Linked DNA regions of Homo sapiens: all the other regions are linked to region 1. Evidence: promoter capture Hi-C in 16 types of primary human blood cells and fetal thymus (Javierre and others, 2016). All regions are on one chromosome and are shown on one strand. The core of a region is centred on a gene start or on the middle of the fragment in contact, and the rest is flanking DNA. Distances in the headings are between cores, read along the strand shown.

Evidence for each region. Contacts are between HindIII fragments. The CHiCAGO score rates a contact against its expected background, and 5 or more counts as called.
Region 2: a fragment that was not itself captured here is called in contact with the fragment with the promoter of TLR5 in region 1 in 2 of 17 cell types (naive CD4 T cells and non-activated CD4 T cells); the score reaches 5.8 in naive CD4 T cells.
Region 3: a fragment that was not itself captured here is called in contact with the fragment with the promoter of TLR5 in region 1 in 1 of 17 cell types (total B cells); the score reaches 6.2 in total B cells.
Region 4: a contact is called between a fragment that was not itself captured here and the fragment with the promoter of TLR5 in region 1, in 12 of 17 cell types (endothelial precursors, M1 macrophages, naive CD4 T cells and 9 more). The highest score is 14.6, in endothelial precursors.
Region 5: a fragment that was not itself captured here is called in contact with the fragment with the promoter of TLR5 in region 1 in 1 of 17 cell types (naive CD8 T cells); the score reaches 7.6 in naive CD8 T cells.
Region 6: a contact is called between a fragment that was not itself captured here and the fragment with the promoter of TLR5 in region 1, in 15 of 17 cell types (naive CD8 T cells, total CD8 T cells, megakaryocytes and 12 more). The highest score is 21.1, in naive CD8 T cells.

The regions. Positions count from the first base shown.
Region 1 is chr1:223,141,798-223,144,497 of GRCh38, reverse strand. It overlaps TLR5 (toll like receptor 5), which reads left to right and starts at 1,250. Exons shown (of 6, transcript NM_003268.6): 1 at 1,250-1,302. LOC124904522 (a long non-coding RNA gene) reads right to left here and starts at 1,143. Exons shown (of 2, transcript XR_007066895.1): 1 at 900-1,143. RefSeq lists a silencer at 1,092-1,461. The HindIII fragment of the contact is 3,848 bases long and covers 1-2,700 here.
Region 2 is chr1:223,716,236-223,719,062 of GRCh38, reverse strand. It overlaps CAPN2 (calpain 2), which reads right to left. Exons shown (of 21, transcript NM_001748.5): 2 at 1,232-1,301. Among named protein-coding and RNA genes, the nearest start is that of CAPN2, 5.1 kb to the right of the region's middle. RefSeq lists enhancers at 1-304, 470-639. The HindIII fragment of the contact is 1,455 bases long and covers 549-2,003 here.
Region 3 is chr1:222,455,746-222,458,472 of GRCh38, reverse strand. No RefSeq gene overlaps it. Among named protein-coding and RNA genes, the nearest start is that of TRT-TGT2-1, 7.9 kb to the left of the region's middle. The HindIII fragment of the contact is 5,503 bases long and covers 1-2,727 here.
Region 4 is chr1:223,669,464-223,672,163 of GRCh38, reverse strand. No RefSeq gene overlaps it. Among named protein-coding and RNA genes, the nearest start is that of CAPN8, 5.1 kb to the right of the region's middle. The HindIII fragment of the contact is 2,651 bases long and covers 106-2,700 here.
Region 5 is chr1:223,746,173-223,749,026 of GRCh38, reverse strand. CAPN2 (calpain 2) reads right to left here. Exons shown (of 21, transcript NM_001748.5): 5 at 1,862-2,030. Among named protein-coding and RNA genes, the nearest start is that of CAPN2, 35 kb to the right of the region's middle. RefSeq lists a silencer at 626-920. The HindIII fragment of the contact is 6,197 bases long and covers 1-2,854 here.
Region 6 is chr1:223,686,313-223,689,130 of GRCh38, reverse strand. The region is part of intron 2 of LOC105373281 (a long non-coding RNA gene); the gene reads left to right. Among named protein-coding and RNA genes, the nearest start is that of CAPN8, 22 kb to the right of the region's middle. The HindIII fragment of the contact is 2,221 bases long and covers 418-2,638 here.

The sequences.
Region 1 (2,700 bases), core at 1-2,500:
CCCAACCTTGCCCTCGGTTCCACTACCAAAAGAGGGAACACTGGGCTTGCCCCAGCAAGGTGTTATTTATGTCAGGCTAGGGCCACTGTGGCTCCCAGCTCTTACTGCTTTCTAGGTGCCCTTACAGACTTCCCCACTGCCCCCTGCATATGCCAGAGTGTGAACATCCCCTCCCTCTCCACAGCCCCCACAGTGGGGTTCGGGTGGGCAGGGAGGTGGTTTCATCCCTCTACATACAGCCCTTGGAGACCTACCTAGGCAATTTGTCACTCAGGCTTCAAGCTGCCAGCCGAGGAGGGGAGCTGAGAAGACTCTATAATGAGATCTTTGCACTGTAATTAAGTGCCAGGCTTTGTTTTACACCTATCTTTCCCGCCTTGCCCGATCCCACCGCCAAGCTCCTCCAGGCAGTGAGTGGGGAGTGTCAGCTGCTCTGTGATTACACCCCAAGTGGCAGGTGGCAGGGAGCTCCTCCGCCTGCAGTCTGCGCCCCACCCCCAGGCTTCCCCCACCACCAGTCTTAACTCAAGACAGTGCTATTTCTGTCCTTGAACTGGGTTTCACCCCAGAAAGCCACTCCACCGCTTTCTCATAAGGCTACCTCCTTTTAACCCTGTGGTTGCACGGCCTCTGGGGTGTCCATTTCTTTCTTTTGACACGTCCCTTTTCCTGAAAGTTTCAGCAAACCCCATAGGCAGAGGGAGTTAGAAAAAGGAAAAGAGAAGTTAGGGCAGGAGGAGCACTGTTCTTATAGGACAGGAAGGGTCTGTCTTCTCTCTTGGGTCCTCCACACAAAATCGGAGCTTCCAAACACCCCAGCTCCCAAACATATGCAGCAGATTCTGCTGACAGGAATGTGTCACTGTGATCTTCACATTTTAGCCTGAAGTTTAGCCTACCTGAAGAAGCACCGGAGTGGGAGTGGGAGAACATGGGATGGTGCTTCTCTTTGGCCTGGCTGTGCTTTTGGACACTTCAGGTCTTCGGCCTGGGTTTCCTCCTCCGTACGATGAGGAGAGGATGGGAGGGGGCAATGCTGGCATGTGTGATCTCGATAGACACTGTGGAAGTCTGCAGAGACCGGAGCATAACCTCTGCCTCCTCTCCCCGGGCCTAGCCTCTCACAGCCCTCAGAGAAAACCCTGAGCTGCGGCGTGGCCGAGACGGGGGCGTGGCCTGGCAGGTGGGCGGGCCCTTCCGTGGGCGGGGCCGCGAGGTTTTCAGGAGCCCGAGCGAGGGCGCCGCTTTTGCGTCCGGGAGGAGCCAACCGTGGCGCAGGCGGCGCGGGGAGGCGTCCCAGAGGTGAGCGCCCTGCAGCGGCAGGGGATGGGCCGGGGGCCCTAAGTCGTAGGCAGCGCGGGGCGGGGACGCGGCTGCCTGCGGAGGTCGGACTCCTCTCCGCCCTCCTCCCGGGCTGTCCGGGTCTATTTTCCAGTCTATGTCCAACTCGCGCCGCCTCACTAGGCGGCGCTCTCTGCCCCGCGGCACCCGCGAGACGTGGGGTCCCTCGGCCCAGGGACGGGGTGAGCGTGTCATGTGGGTGCCCTGTGCCCGGCAGGTTGGAGACGAAGAGACCTCGGCACAGACGAAGTCACTCACATCCTCGCTTTGAAACAGAGCGGGTCCTTCTTGTGCTGTCTCGCTGTCACTCTCGCCCCCACCCTGTGGAAGAGGCAGGTGGCTTGTCCCCAGTCACTTTCTTCCTTGGAAAAGGGAGACAGAGGGCCATCTCCAGCAGGGCCATGGAAATCCCAGAAAGTCACTGAGCTGCTCAACAAAAGGCCCTAAACACCCCACCCCACAGCACCAGGCAGTGCACACTGGCCAAGACTCCGTGGTAAATATTGCTGGCCTTTATGTTGAGAGGGGGAAAAAAAAGCCTGCCTGTGAAGATCATTGCCCAGTGGCCATGCTCCTGTGAAAACACAATTGGAAAGCCATTTCCTAAGGGGCGAGGGTGGGTCTGGGACCATGCTGTGGCTTGGGTGATTGGTGGTTGCAGGAGTGAGGGTGCTGCCCTGGGAAGGCGCTGAGGCCCTGTTGGGTGGGAATCGACGGCTGCGGCTTTCTCCCGGAGGAGGGAGAGCGGTGTTGTTACCTAGTGTTGGGAACACATCCGTCCAGCACCGTGAACTGCAAACAAGCAGAGTAACCCTAGTGTCCTTCAGATACTGTTGCTGAGCAGTCACCTAGTCAATGAGATGATCTGTTTGGACGGCAAGTGCATCTGTAATGCCGCCCTCTTGCTCAGTGCCTGGAAGAGGCATTGGTGACTCCCCGCTAATGCTAGGGGTAGCTACCGTGCAGGAGCAGTCAGGCTCTTGCAGGGCCAATGTGGTTTCATCAATTTTCTCCTGCATTTACCCAGCCCCTCCGAATTCTGAGAAGTGCGTCCAAGATCTCTTGGACTCCTTGACTCAGTTCACCCTTGTTCTTGTGGGCAGAAAACAATTCCCAGTGTGCCATGCACAGCCAGTCAGAAGGGAAGCCCTGGAGCAGGGCCCTGGGAGAAGTTCTGTGGGGCTGGATGCTAATTATTCAGTTACTGGATTGTGGGGAAATTCCAGGGGAGGTCCCAGAGGAGAGACCGTGCTAAAGCTAATTACTAAGCAGTACAAAAATAATCTCTCTCTCTCTCTTTCTCTCTCTCTCTCTCTCTCTCTCTCTCTCTCTCTATATATATATATATATATATATATA
Region 2 (2,827 bases), core at 27-2,526, 570 kb before region 1:
ATCTGCAGAGCCTGAGCTCAGACAAACTTTCCCGCCCAGCTCATGTTCTTCCTCACAGTCTGTCTGTCCTAATGATTCACATGATGCTCTGACATTCCTCAGGGCTAGAAAATTTTCCAGGTCCCGTCTTAGGGAGTCTAGCTCAGGAATTAAACATACCCTGGGGTCAGGGGTACCAGCCACCACTTTAGCTGTAGGAAGACCTCTGCATCCTCATCTATAAAATGGGAATAATCACGGTGCCTTAGAGATACATATTAGCTGTTATCAGCTGGTATTAGGAGTATATGAGTAACAGAACCTCTGCTAGGTGGGTGAGGACAGGAGGTACAACTCTAGTTGACTGATTTTGCTACTGATGAACTTGTCTGGGGAGCCAGCCAGCTGAGGCTGATGGCAGAAAATAGATTTTTGGTTTATCAGAGCAAATAATCTGCTCTAGTAATTATAGGCCCACATTTATTATGAGTAAAAGAACATTGAGGGCAGATTCTATGAGAATCTTAGATAACAGCGCCAGGCCCCATTGCTGGGACTTCCTAGAAGCTTTGGGAATTTTCATACTAAAGGTGGAGAACCCTGTGGGTTGAAACCTTCAACAAGGACTATCTCCAGAAACAAATCTGAACTCGGCTCCAGAAAGCAAGGTTTTGGACAATTCAGCTACTCCAGTTCATTTTACTTAAATGAGCGTTACAACTGTGATACCATGGTGAGCTTGTCTTGCAAACACTGAGAATGCCCTGGTACTATAACTTCCTTCAGCAGCGAGCATTAGAGTTTCCTCTTTCTTTACACTGAGTCACCTTCCCTGGTTCCTGAACCTCACAGAACTGATGTCTCAGTGCTGTCATTGGTCTGGGGGAGTCCTCCCACCTAGTCCTCTGCCCAGAGTGTATTTCGTGAACCACTGGTAATGCTGGCTCCAGGAGGTGCATACCAAGGGGTGGCTGACATCCAGAAGCCCCCTGGTCCTCCTAGTGGCAGCATCTCTGTAACCTCAGCAACTAGCCCTGTGCAGGGGACACAGGAGGCCTCATTTGTGTGCCCCAGCATGGGGCTGAGGGTAGAATCATTGCCCGCTAGGGCCAAGAAATTCCATGGAGCTTCTCTGCAAATAGAAATTGCCAAGCTGCTTGGGAAGGGAGAGAAGCCACAGGTTGTCCCTCATCTCTTCCACCCACAGCCTTACAGACAAGATCCCCCAGCTTGCTCTGAATCTATCACTTACCCAGGGCTCCTTGGCAGATGTCTGTGCGGGTGGCTCCTCCAATGATAAACTGGGGGTCAGCGCAGATCTCCTGGGAACGAGACCCACAAAGTGCTGTTAGCCTACCAGCCAGGTGCTTCTGCAGCTAGGATGCCTCCATTCTCAGTGGGGTCTTCTAACCCCTTCTCCCCTTCCCCTCCCCTCTGGGGAAAGTGTGTCATCACAGTCAGAACTCTGTGTCATGAGGTCCTTCTGACCCCTGCTCCCTGGGCCCTGATGGGTGGATGGGTGGTCCTGTCTGAGAAGGGCAGGCATTGGACCCTGCACACTCTGGACTGCCTGGAGCCTCCTTCATTGTGCTGTGTCCCGGGGGCCACAGCAGCAAGTCCAGCCTTTTCTGCCAGACGTGGAGACCATCCACACTCTAGAGCCACCCTATCCACTGGGTTAGCATCCTCTCTCCTCTGTTACTGCATGCAAGTTGTTTTGCTTGCATGAAATTCCTTCCTTTCCCACTCTCTTCCCTCCTTTTCCATATTGCATCATACCTTGAGGCTCATTGTCACCTCCTCCGTGAAGTCGTCCTAGTCCAATCCTCACTCATCCCTTCAAGTCTGAGTCCCAGAGTCTCTGGACTCTGCAATTTACTACTTAGGTATTACTCTGATTTCCTAACACATACCCTTTTGAGGGCAGGCGGGATCTAACCCTTTTGAATTCTTCCATGGGACCATGAAACTTACAGCATCTATATATTCTGTACCTGCTTACATCAGAGACTGTGCTCAAAGCTTTACCTCATGGAATGGGTATTATCCCCCTTTTACAGACGAGGAAACAGCTCAAAAAGGTGAAGTGACGTGTCCAAAGTTAACACAGTTCACAGATAATAGACAGCACTGGCATTGGAACTTACTGATCAAATGCGCCAACTCTTTCTGCTCCTGCCCTGCCTCTAATTGATTTAGTACCAAGCGTTCAAGGGTGTTAAAACCTCAGGGGCCATTGTCATGAGCAGCCTGATGGAAGCCAACCTTGAACACTTCTTAGCCCTTTCAGCAGCCCTCTGAGTGTGTTTCGATTCTGAAGAGCCCCACCCAAAAGCCACAGAGGAAGTTGGGGCACAAATTTGAGCCTCTCTGGGCTCAGGCAACCTTGCCTTGAAGGAGCTGCGTCTCATGTCTGCTTGGGTTGCACACGCCTGCCTCCACCCAACGGCCCTCGGCATGCCCACTCTGTCAAGCAGAAGTATGCCTATATGAGACTTGGATCTAGCCCCTGTTCATTCTAGCTCAGATTGTGGGAGCTCTTCCGGAAGCACCATCTGCCGCAGAGGACATTCCCTTCATGCCTCTGCCTTGTTTCTCTCTGCTCCTGTCAGTTTTGGGGATGGCAGAGAGAATCAGAATGCTCTTCTGCTGAGGCAAAGGAAGCCAGCTTGGCCCAAGGCCTGCCAGAGAGCTCTTATCCAGCTGATGGAATAGATTGGGCTTGGTGCTGGGAGCCTGTTTATTATAAAGAATCACACTGATAATCCTGAGTGTGCCAGGCACTTACTCCAGCAGGGTTTTTCCATTATACTTCAGAAACTTTCTAATGCCTTTAGCAGCCTCTCTA
Region 3 (2,727 bases), core at 33-2,532, 690 kb after region 1:
TTTGCAGGGTTCAGCCTCCATGGTTGCTCTCACAGGGTGGCATTGACTGTGGCTTTTCCAGGCACATAGTGCAAGCTGTTGGTGGCTCTAACATTCTGGGGTCTGGAGGACGGTGGCTCTCTTTGTGCAGCTCCACTAAGCAGTACCCCAGTGGGGACTCTTTGTGGAGGCTCCAACTCAACATTTCTCCTTCATACTGCCCTAGTAGAGGTTCTCCATGAGGCTTCTGCCCCTGCTGCAGGCTTCTGCCTGGACATCCAGGCTTTTCTATATATCCTCTGAAATCTAGGTGGAGGCTCCCAAGCCTCAATCCTTGCACTCTGTGCACCTGCAGGCTTAATATCACATGGAAATTGCCAAGGCTTATGACTTGCACCCTCTGAAGCAGTGGCCTGTACTATATCCCTTTGAGCCATGCCTGAAGTTGGAGTGGCTGGGATGTGGAGAGCAGTGTCCTGAGGCTGCATAGGGCAGCAGAGTCCCCGGGCCTAACCCATAAAAGCATTCTTTCCTCCTAGGTCCCTGGGCCTATGATGGGAGGGGCTGCTGCAAAGGTCTCTGAAATGCCTTTGAGGCCTTTTCTCCATTGCCTTGGCTATTAGCACTTGGATCCTTTATATTTATGCAAATTTCTGCAGCCTGCTTAAATTCCTCCCTGAAAACGGGCTTTTCTTTTCTACCACACAGCCAAGCTGCAAATTTTCCAAACTTTTATGCTCTGTTTCCCATTTAAATATCAGTTCCAACTTCAGGTCATTTCTTTGCTCATACATATGAGCATAGGCTGTTAGAAGCAGCCAGGTCACATCTTGAACACTTTACTGCTTAGAAATTTCTTCTGCCAGATATCCTAAATTACCACTCTCAAGTTCAAAGTCCCACAGATCTCTAGAGCAGGGGCATAATGCAGCTAAGCTGTCTGATAAGGCATAGCAAAGGTTACCTTTACTCATTCCCAATAAGTTCCTCATTTCCATCTGAGACATCTTCAGGCTGGACTTCACTGTCCACGTCACTGTCAGCATTTTAATCACAACCATTAAACAACTCTCTAGGATGTTCCAAACCTTCCCTCAACTTCCTGTCTTCTAGCCCTCCACATTCTTCCAACCTCTGCCTATTTCCCAGTTTCAAAGTTGCTTTCACATTTTTGGGTATCTTTATAGCAATATCCTACTCCTGGTACCAATTTTCTGTATTAGGCTATTCTCATATTGCCACAAACAAACACCCAAGATTGGGTAATTTATAAAGAAAAGAGGTTTAATTGGCTCATGGTTCCACAGACTGTACAGGAAGCACAATGCTGGCATCTGCTTGGCTTCTGGGAAGACCTCAGGAAACTTACAATTATGGCAGAAGGCAAATGGGGAGCAGATATGTCTTCACGGTAGGAGCAGGAGCAAAAGAGAAAGAGAAGGGAGGTGCCACATACTTTTAAACAACCAGATCTCATGAGAACTCAGTATCTTGAGGACAGTACCAAGGGGGAAATCTGCCCCCATGATCCAATCCCACCTCACACCAGGCCCCACCTCCAACATTGGGGATTACATGAGATTTGGGTGGGGACACAGATCCAAACCATGGCAAAAAGCTACCCAAGTGATTTTAATGTGCAGCCAGAGTTGAGTACCATTGCTCTGACAAAATTTTTTATCTTATATATGAACAAGAAGAGACTTCAAGAGCTTAAGTAACTGACCCCAAATAAAGGCCATACAGTCAATTACTGGCCAAGACTCTGGCCCGCTCTATTCCCCTATTGGAAAACCTCCACAGCAGTCACACTTTGGGTCAATTTCTTACAGAGGATAGCTACAGTCTTTATGTCTTTAAATCTAAATCTAGATATATTATTTGAATAGTGCTAGCATACTCTGGCAGAACTTTTGAGAGTGAGGACTGTTCCAGAACTATCTGTGCTATGTGACCTCAGGATCTGGAGGTGGTGACAGGCTCAGATTTTACAGTCAGGAAAGTCTGGTTTCAAATGGTAGTTCAGCCACTGACAGCTCTGCACCCTTGGCCAAGTTACTTGGCATCTCTGATCTTCAGTTTCCTTGTAATGTGAATGTTTTGTCAACACAGACTGGTTTCTTGGTTGTGAAGACTAAATAAGATAAGGCCATAAAAGTCTCAGCACGTAATTAGTGCCTTTTAGGAAGCCGATGACTTATCCATTAGCTGGTGGTGCAATTTTACCTTTTAAATGATAGCAGTACTAGTAATTATTACTGTTGTTGTTCTTCTTATATTCCATGTATTTGCCTTCCAGATAGGTGGTTCTTAAGCAGAGGTGATTTTGTACCCCCAGGAAACATTTGGCAATGTCTATAGGTATTTTGATTGTTATAACAGGGGTGGAGGTTTGGGGACAGTGGTGGGGTGCCAGTGACACCAGTGGGTAGAGGCCAAGGATACTACTAAATGCTCATAATGCGCAGGCAGCCTCCCAACAACAAAGACCTATCTGACCCGATGGTGCGAAGGTCAAGAGACTCTGCTGTAGATATCTGTAAGTAATTGGGAGCTTGAGGGCCCAGAGCCACTGGGTGGTGACAGGATGATAATTCTCAATTTTTGCTATTGTGTGGCAAGGGGGCAATGTGTTTAGGGGGTTGCAAACAGCTCCATGTCTACTCTCAATCACCACAGAGGAAGGACTTTCCAACTCTTTACATATGAGTTGCTGTGGTAACCGGTAAGTAATAACCCTGGGGTTTA
Region 4 (2,700 bases), core at 182-2,681, 530 kb before region 1:
GGATTTAGGAGCTCTGTCAGGAACTAGAGTCAAAGACCAAATATTACAACAAAAGATGCTCCTAGCACATTTATCACCCAGGAAATTACAAAGATTTTAGAAGCTTTGTGCCAGGAACTGAGGACAAAGACCAAAATACTTATTTCTTATTAAATCACAAGATCACAAGAGGTATCCTGGCTGTGTCTTCCCTTCCTCCACACTCATCCCCAGCCTCTGGGACTCACAGAGGAGGTAAACTTGGGAACTCCTCTCCCTACCTGCCCAGCCCCAGTGCCACTACCTGAATTAAGCCATCATCGATTCTTGCTTGTTTCAGAGCAACTGCACCCTAACTATAGAGAAGAAGTCCACATCCATTTAGGATGGCATTCAAGGCCCCCAGTGTCTTTTCCTCTTGTTGTTTGCCTCCTGCCTCACTCCAGGAGTGAGTGATCTAGAATGATCTCATTCTAGATAATTAATATTCTGTTGGCACTGTGTGCAGAGCTGTTCCTTCTTGCCATTTTCTTGCTGTTCCCCTTGACTCCAATGCCCTTTTTACACTGCCTTCTTTCAAAATCATCATCCTTCAAGCACCTTATCCTACAGATCTAACTGGAAGGCCACCTCTTCCATGAAGCCCTCCTTATCACTCATCATCCTCAGAATCAACCACTCTTTCTTTGAGCATTGCCTGGTCTTTCCACTGCATGGAAGTTCTTTGTGGGCAGGCATGGTGTCTATTTGTCTTTCGATTTTTTCTTTTCTTTTCTTTTTTCTTTTTCTTGAGACAAGGTCTTGCTCTGTCACCTAGGCCAGAGTGCAGTGGCGCGATCTCAGCTCTCTGAAACCTCCACCTCCTGGGTTCAAGCAATTCTTCTGCCTCAGTCTCTTGAGTAGCTGGTATTACAGGTGCCTGCCACCATGCCTGGCTAATTTTTTGAAATTTTTATAGAGATGGGGTTTCACCACGTTGCTCAGGCTGGTCTGGAACTGCTGGGCTCAAGTCATCTGCCTGCCTTGTCCTCCCAAAGTGCTGGGATTGCAGGCCTGAACAAATGCGTCTGGCCTCTATTTGTCCTTTTATCCTCCTACGAGCATTGACCCCTGCCCAGTGGAGTGTTGGCACAGAGACGGCTTGCAGATCTGAGTGAGGCTTGCAGATCTGAGTGAGGCACAGAGATGGCTTGCAGATTGGAGGGCTGAGTGAGTCATTGGATTTCTTCCTTTTAGGCATCACATCTCACAGCCTACTGCCCAGGTCGCATCTCCCTGTTGGTATGTGTGGGTAGCGTGCCTTAAAAAGAGCATGGGAATTAAAATCAGAAGACTTGGGCTCAAGTTTGCTACTTGAGTGACCTTGGGGTAGCCTGACAATATGATCTTTCTTACAGACTTGTCGTGAATCTCTAAGCAGCCATGGCAGGAAAGTGCTATGTAGACCTTGCATTCTATTCAAATGTGAGTTTTTGCCACATTACTTAGTCATACCAGGTCAACAGGATCTGTAGGCCTCTAGGGGGCAGTCTCAGCTGGCCTCCCAACTGGCCTTGACTGAGCCCTTTCCTGCCAGGATGAAGGCCTGAGCTGTGACCCCTAAGATGCCATGAGCGATCCTGCAGACCTGGAGAGAGAATGAGCCCACACATCTCAACTCATCCAGGCTTCTGGTTAGGTAGGGTTTGCTCTTACAGCTCTAGAACTGTTTGCATGTGCTGGGCACTTGATATCCTGGGCAGATGGGAAGCCAATCTCTTCCTTAGAGGCCACCTACCAATGCTTGTATCATAGCCAGCCTTCCCCTCTGTAATGCCTTTTTTTCTCCTTTTCAATTTTAAAATTGAGATATAACTCACATAACATAAACATCGCCAAAGTGTACATTTAAAGTGTGATATTTATTTATTTATTTGAGACAGGTCTCGCTTGCTCATCCAGATGAGAGTACAGTGGTGCAACCATAGCCCACGGCAGCCTCAACCTCCTGGGCTCAAGCGATGCTCCCAGCTCAGCTTGACAAAGTGCTGGGATTGCAGGTGTAAGCCACTGTGCCTGGCCTAAAATGTGACTTTTGGTTGTGCAACTATCACCACCATCTCATTCCATAATAATTTCATCACCCCAAAAAAGAAACCTTGTAACTATTAGAGTCAGCCCCACTTCCCAATCCTTGGCAACCACGACTCTGCTTTCTTTCCCTATGGCTTTGCAATTCTAGGCATTTCATAAAACTGGAATTATACAATGTATGGCCTTTTGTCATTCGCTTCTTTTACTTTGCATGTCTTTAAGATCCGTCTATGTTGTAGCATGTAACAGTATCTCGCTCCTTTTATGGACTCCTTTTATGGCTGAATAATATTCCATCATATGCATATACCACATTTTGTTTATCCATTTGTCCATCGATGGGCATTTAGGTTGTTTCCACTTTTTGGCTATTATGAATAATGCTCCTATGGGCATTTATGTACACGTTTTTGTGTAGACATATGCTTTCAATTCTCTTTCAATCCTTGAAGTGGGATGTTACTCAGAGTTACTGTGTAATTCTATGTTTAGCATTTTGAGAAACTGCTGGACTGCTTTCCAAAACAGCGGCACCATTTTACATTCCCACCAGCAATGTATGAGAACTCTGTAATCCTCTTGACACTGGATTCAACCCCTGCTTGCCTTAGCATTCTGAAACTGTCAGGCCCAGGAGAGAGAATTCTG
Region 5 (2,854 bases), core at 314-2,813, 600 kb before region 1:
CAACCGTCAGACTGGCCGCACCCGCTCTCCCTTCCTCCCGGACTCCCTCGCTCCCTCTGTCCTACTGCCGGGCGGGACCGCCGGACGCACTAGCGCAGCGGCCGAGGCCTGGGGTGGGAGGCTCAGGGCTGCGCTTTCTTGCACTTGGAGAACCTTTCCTACCCCGTTCAAATGCTTGAACGCCGAGAATACCAGAGAAAAGGCGGAATGCAACCCTCTCGCGGAACGAGCACAGGCATTCCCGTGTGAATAGCGCATCCACGGATTTCTGCAGGCTGGGAAGGGCGGGAAAGGGCGCACGGCCGAGAGAGGGCTGGAGGGGGTCCTCGATGGCGCAGGGAAAGGGCGCACGGCCGAGAGAGGGCCGGAGGGGGTCCTCGATGGCGCAGGGCTGATACCCAGACAGCCTTGAGTGGCCCAGGGACACTGAGCACACCCTCGCCCCACCACCAGCCCATGCTCCGTGGTCTGGCCCAGCCCAGCTGTAGGGTTTATACTAGGACGGTTGTTTATTCCGGTCTGAGTCAGAATTTGCTTCTGTTTTAAGAACGCCTCACAGCCTCTCCTTTCCCCTATCTATTCTGATGAAGGTTGAGCCTGGGAAGAAGGGCTGGAGCAGAAAGGGTCTTCTGCCTCAACGTGTTCTGCTGATAAACTTTGAGAATTCCTGCCTAGGGAGTCTGACCTAGATTTTGGCTCCAAAAGCCAGGGCTTCTTATCTCTGTCCCCCGCAGAGACCAGAACCTGGATGGGACAGGGCTCAGAGGTTGGGCACAGCCTTTGCTCCAAGGCTCCTGGGCACAGTGCCCACCTCCCATCCCCTGGTGAGCGTTGCCAGCAAGGCTATTATGAGGAAATCTTTCCTCCTCTTCCTTCCGAAGTCTCCCACGGGCCTATTAGCTCTGCAAGAGTGCAGGGGAAGGCTGCACAGCACTGCAGATGGAGGGGAAGGTGGCAGGGGCAGCAGGTGGCAGGGGCTCCCAGGGAACCTGTGGTCAGAGGGGTGGGGGTGATTCAGAGCAGGCTAAGAGTGGGAAGTGGACTGAAGACAGAAGGGCTGGAGGCACCATCACCCCATCCATTACACCCCAGACAGCTTGACTTTTGCCTAGCAACCCTTGGCTTCCAGGTGATGAGCAATAATGGTAGACACTGGGGTGCTCAGAAACCAATACCTCTAAGAGATGGCACTTTGAAATGCTAAACTGAAGAAGCCTCAAGATCTCTCTGACCTCCCCTTTCCTTCTGTCTCTCGATCCACTCTCCCCCAAAGCACAGGAGGAAGCTATTCTCTGAAGTTCCCTCACCTGCCTAAAGTCTGGACCTGCCAAAGATGAAAACAATGACGTCTGGTCCTTTCCATGAGTTATTATGAACTGAACTCATATTGCAGGAAGAAAGACAAGTCTGTCAACATGGCTAGACAGACTTGTCACAAACCACTGTCTGCTCTGCAGGCCCAACAGACTTTATCCCAGACCATTTATGTTCTTTAAGCCCAATGAATTCCCCTAAAAATCATTTACGACATCCCTAAAATCATCCGCACCTCCCCATCTCCCTTCCCCTAAGAGGAAGGGAATATAACCCTCTGTATCCCAATGCGTGGTAGGGAAATCTCTTGTGATTCTCCCCTGTCCACATTCATACATTTGTATGCCATTTCTTGTATTAGTCTTCCTTTTGCCAGTTGATTTTCAGCGGACCTTCAGAGGGTGGAGGGAGGTTTTCCTTTGGCCCCTACGTGGACGAGGGCTGCATTACGTTGTACACAGGAGCAGTGGGTTCCCTTGGGCACTGTGGGAGCCTCCCTTCAGCAAGAGCAGATGGGGTGAGGCTAGGGAAGGCAGCCTGGACTTACGTCGATGGAGCAGCCAAGGAGAGAGCCTTTTTGCAGAGCTTTCTGGATGATCTTGAACAGGTTGGGAGGGGGCTTCTTCAACTCATACCACTCAGCAATGCCTCCGGTGAAGTCTTCGAAGCCCTCAGTGGTGGCACCCCCTGATAGCGCTTCATAGCATCCGTTGATCCTACAAGAGGGGATTAGACGCTGCCGCTACCCTTGACACTACTGATGCTATAATCTCTCAAACAGCCACCCCCTAGTACCGTCTAGATTTGATGCTCCAGGGACCCCCTGCTCACATTCTCCTTGGCCTTGTTCCCAGCTCGGGGTGCTCAGGAAGGCAAGGTATAATGTCCACAGTTACCATTTCCCTGGTATTTTGTGTTTTAAAGAAAATCTCAGGCCGGGCGCGGTAGCTCATGCCTGTAATCCCAGCACTCTGGGAGGCCGAGGTGGGCGGATCACTTGAGGTCAGGAGTTCAAGACCAGCCTGGCCAACATGGCAAAACACCATCTCTACTAAAAATACAAAAAAATTAGCTGGGCATGGTGGTGCATGCCTGTAGTCCCAGCTACTTGGGAGGCTGAGGCAAAAGAATTGCTGAAACTCAGAACGTGGAAATTGCAGTGAGCTGAGATCATGCCGCTCACTCCAGCCTGGGTGACAGAATGAGGCTCCGTATTAAAAAAAAAAAAAAAAAAAAAGATTCTCGTAGAACCTTAGAGTCGGAAGGACCTTAGTGATTTTCTGGATGAACCTCCTGTATTGATTCCTTCTACATCCTGACAAGAAAGGGGAGGTCTACTAATGGGTCGTTTGGCATTGATAGCTTAAAAAAGGACAACCATTCAATAATGGAAGCAGTTTCTCTGAGAAACAGGCACGGTGTTGGCAAGGGCTTAGTGCTCCTGACTGCTGATGCTGGAGTCCGGTGGCTTCCCTGACCCCAGTATTGAGCAGTGGGACTTAGAAGCATCCGTCAGGCTCCAGGTTCTCACAGCTGACTC
Region 6 (2,818 bases), core at 279-2,778, 540 kb before region 1:
AAGCCATTCATTATACATTCCTGTTTTATCCATCCCTGCCTCGAAGTACCTGCTTCTGACTTCTGTCACAGGCTACACTTCCCAGCCTGTAGGAATGGCCACCTTGCAGATTGCAACACTTCATGAGAAATAAACCTCTTATTTCAAAATTTATGAACCTCACCACTCGTTAGTTGACAAGAGTATTAACCTAAGCATGGGGCCCCTCTTGGAGCAGGGCCCTTATGACTGCATAGGTTGCTGCCCATGAAGCTAGCTAGCCCTGCTGACCTTGTTGCTGGTTTTCCAGGAGTAGATGCCGAGACTGTGCTTGGTGTACAGAGTATTTATTAGGAATCAACATCCGTGGATGAGAGGAGGAGGAAGCAGTCTTGGGCAGAGGGAAAAGTCAAAATGTGATGCAATTGTGACAAAGCTTTGGCCATTCCTATGGGATGTTCTGGACCATACACGGCCCATCAGAGATGCTAGATTAAGCCAAAATGTCTGTGTCTTTATACCTTACTTCTATCAGTCATTGGATGTGAACTGCCCCAACTTTGGGAGGTGGGATTAGCAGAAAGTTTCCAGGTCTCAAATCCTTTAGAGTTTGTTTCAGTTGCAGAGAGCTAACTCAACCAAGGGCATGACCCTCCCAGGCTGAGCAACATCCTGCTTTCTCTTCTGAAGAAAACAGTAGCAAACCAAATCCAGCTCTCTATATATGATAATATATCACAGCCAATAGCTGAGGTCAAGAATAGTAGATTGACCTCGTGTGGTGACTCACGCCTGTAATTCCAGCACTTTGAGGTGAAGGTGGGAGGATCGCTTGAGGCCAGGAGTTTGAGACCAGCTGGGCAACATAGTGAGACTCTGTCTATACAAAAAATTAAAAAAAAATTAACCTGGTATGGTAATGTGTGCCTGTAATCCCAGCTACTTGGGAGGCTGAGGTGGGAGGATCACTTGAGCCTGGGACGTTCAGGCTGCAGTGAGACATCATCGTGCCACTGCACTCCAGCCTGGGTGACAGAGCAAGACCCTGTCTCAAAAAGAAAAAAAAAAAAAAAAGGAAATTGCTTAAACATTAGGGAATCAGAGAATCAGTCACTGATGGATTGATATATATTAACAGAATGATGCATAAAGATACAGATATAGAAAGGTTGAAAATAAAATGATGGAAAAAGATATACTATGTGAACAGTATGAGAAGGAAGCTGGCATAACTATATTAAAATCAGACATAATACTTTAAGGCAAAAATCATTATTAGAGTTAGAATGAGGTTGTTTGTGATGATAGAGGCTCAAATCAAGAGGAATGTTAAAAAGGAAGAGGGATAACTCAAGGGAAGGTCAGCGAAGATTGTGGAGGAAATTGTGTGTTTCCAGGAAGCTCCAGGCTCCTCACATTTTCCCCACCAGCCAGCAGATAGATATTCCATAGTTTAATTTCTTTAGCTTAGTGCTTTATTGTATAGTTAAAATTAAAAAAAAGAAAGCAAGAAAGGAAGGAGCCATCAAGTTATGAAAGGACATTGAAGAAACTTAAATACATATTACTAAGTGAAATAAGTTGTATTAGTCCATTTTCATGCTGCTGAAAAAGACATGTCTGAGAGTGGGTAATTTATAAAGAAAAAGAGGTTTAATTGACTCACAGTTTCACATGGCTGGGGAGGCCTCACAATCATTGCAGAAGGTGAAGGCACATCTTATATGGCAGCAGACAAGAGAGACCTTGTGCGGGGAAACTCCCATTTTTAAAACCATTAGATCTTGTGAGACTGATTCACTATCATGAGAACAGCACTGCAAAGACCCGCAAAAGTCATTATTAGAGATAGAATGGGGTTGTTTGTGATGATAGATGCTCAAATCATTTTTCCCCATGATTCAATTACCTCCCACCGGGTCCCTCCCACAACATGTGGGAATTGTGGGAGCTACAATTCAAGATGAGATTTGGGTGGGGACACAGCCAAACCATATCACTAGTCCGTCTGAAAAGGCTACATAACATATAATTCCAAATATATGACATTCTGGAAAAGGCAGAGCAATGGAGACAGTAAAAAAAAAAGATTTCTGGGTGTTTGGTGAGGGGTAGATGAACAGGCAAAGCACAGAGGATTTTTAGGGCAGTGAAAATACTCTGTCTGATACTATAATGGTGGATACATATTATCATATATTTGTCAAAACCCATAAAATATACCATACTAAGAGGGAACCCTAAAGTAAACTACAGTGATAATGACATGTCAACATAGGTTCATCGATTTTAACAAATGTACCTCACTAGTGTGAGACATTAATAATTGGGAAGCTGTGTGTGTGTGAACATCTTACTTTCTTCTCAATTTTTTGTAAAGCTAAAACTGCTCTGAAAAATAAAACTATTAATTAAAAAAATTAATAGGAGTCTGTGTACAGAGATTCTTTTTGTACAAGGAAAAAAACCAACTCAAATTAAGCCAAAAACAAAAGTAAATGCATGATAGGTCTTGGTCCTGCTGCTTGATGACTTAAATCTAAGGTTATGGCAAAACATCTGAAGCTCATTGCCAGGCTGTGATGGTGCAGGACCCTAAACAGAATGCTCACAATGGAGGGGCTCATGACATTAAGCCACAGAGGCACTATGAGAAGCTTGCCACAGGTGACAGCGACAGAGCTGTGAAACTTGCCTGTGGATCTATAATTTGGAAGTGGCCCACAAGATGAACTCCATGGGAAAGAGTTGGGCAGATAGATACATGGCAGGGCTGCTGAGTCCTGTGTGCAGGACACCCAACACGAAAACCTCATCCATTTTGTGCTGTCGCCTCTTT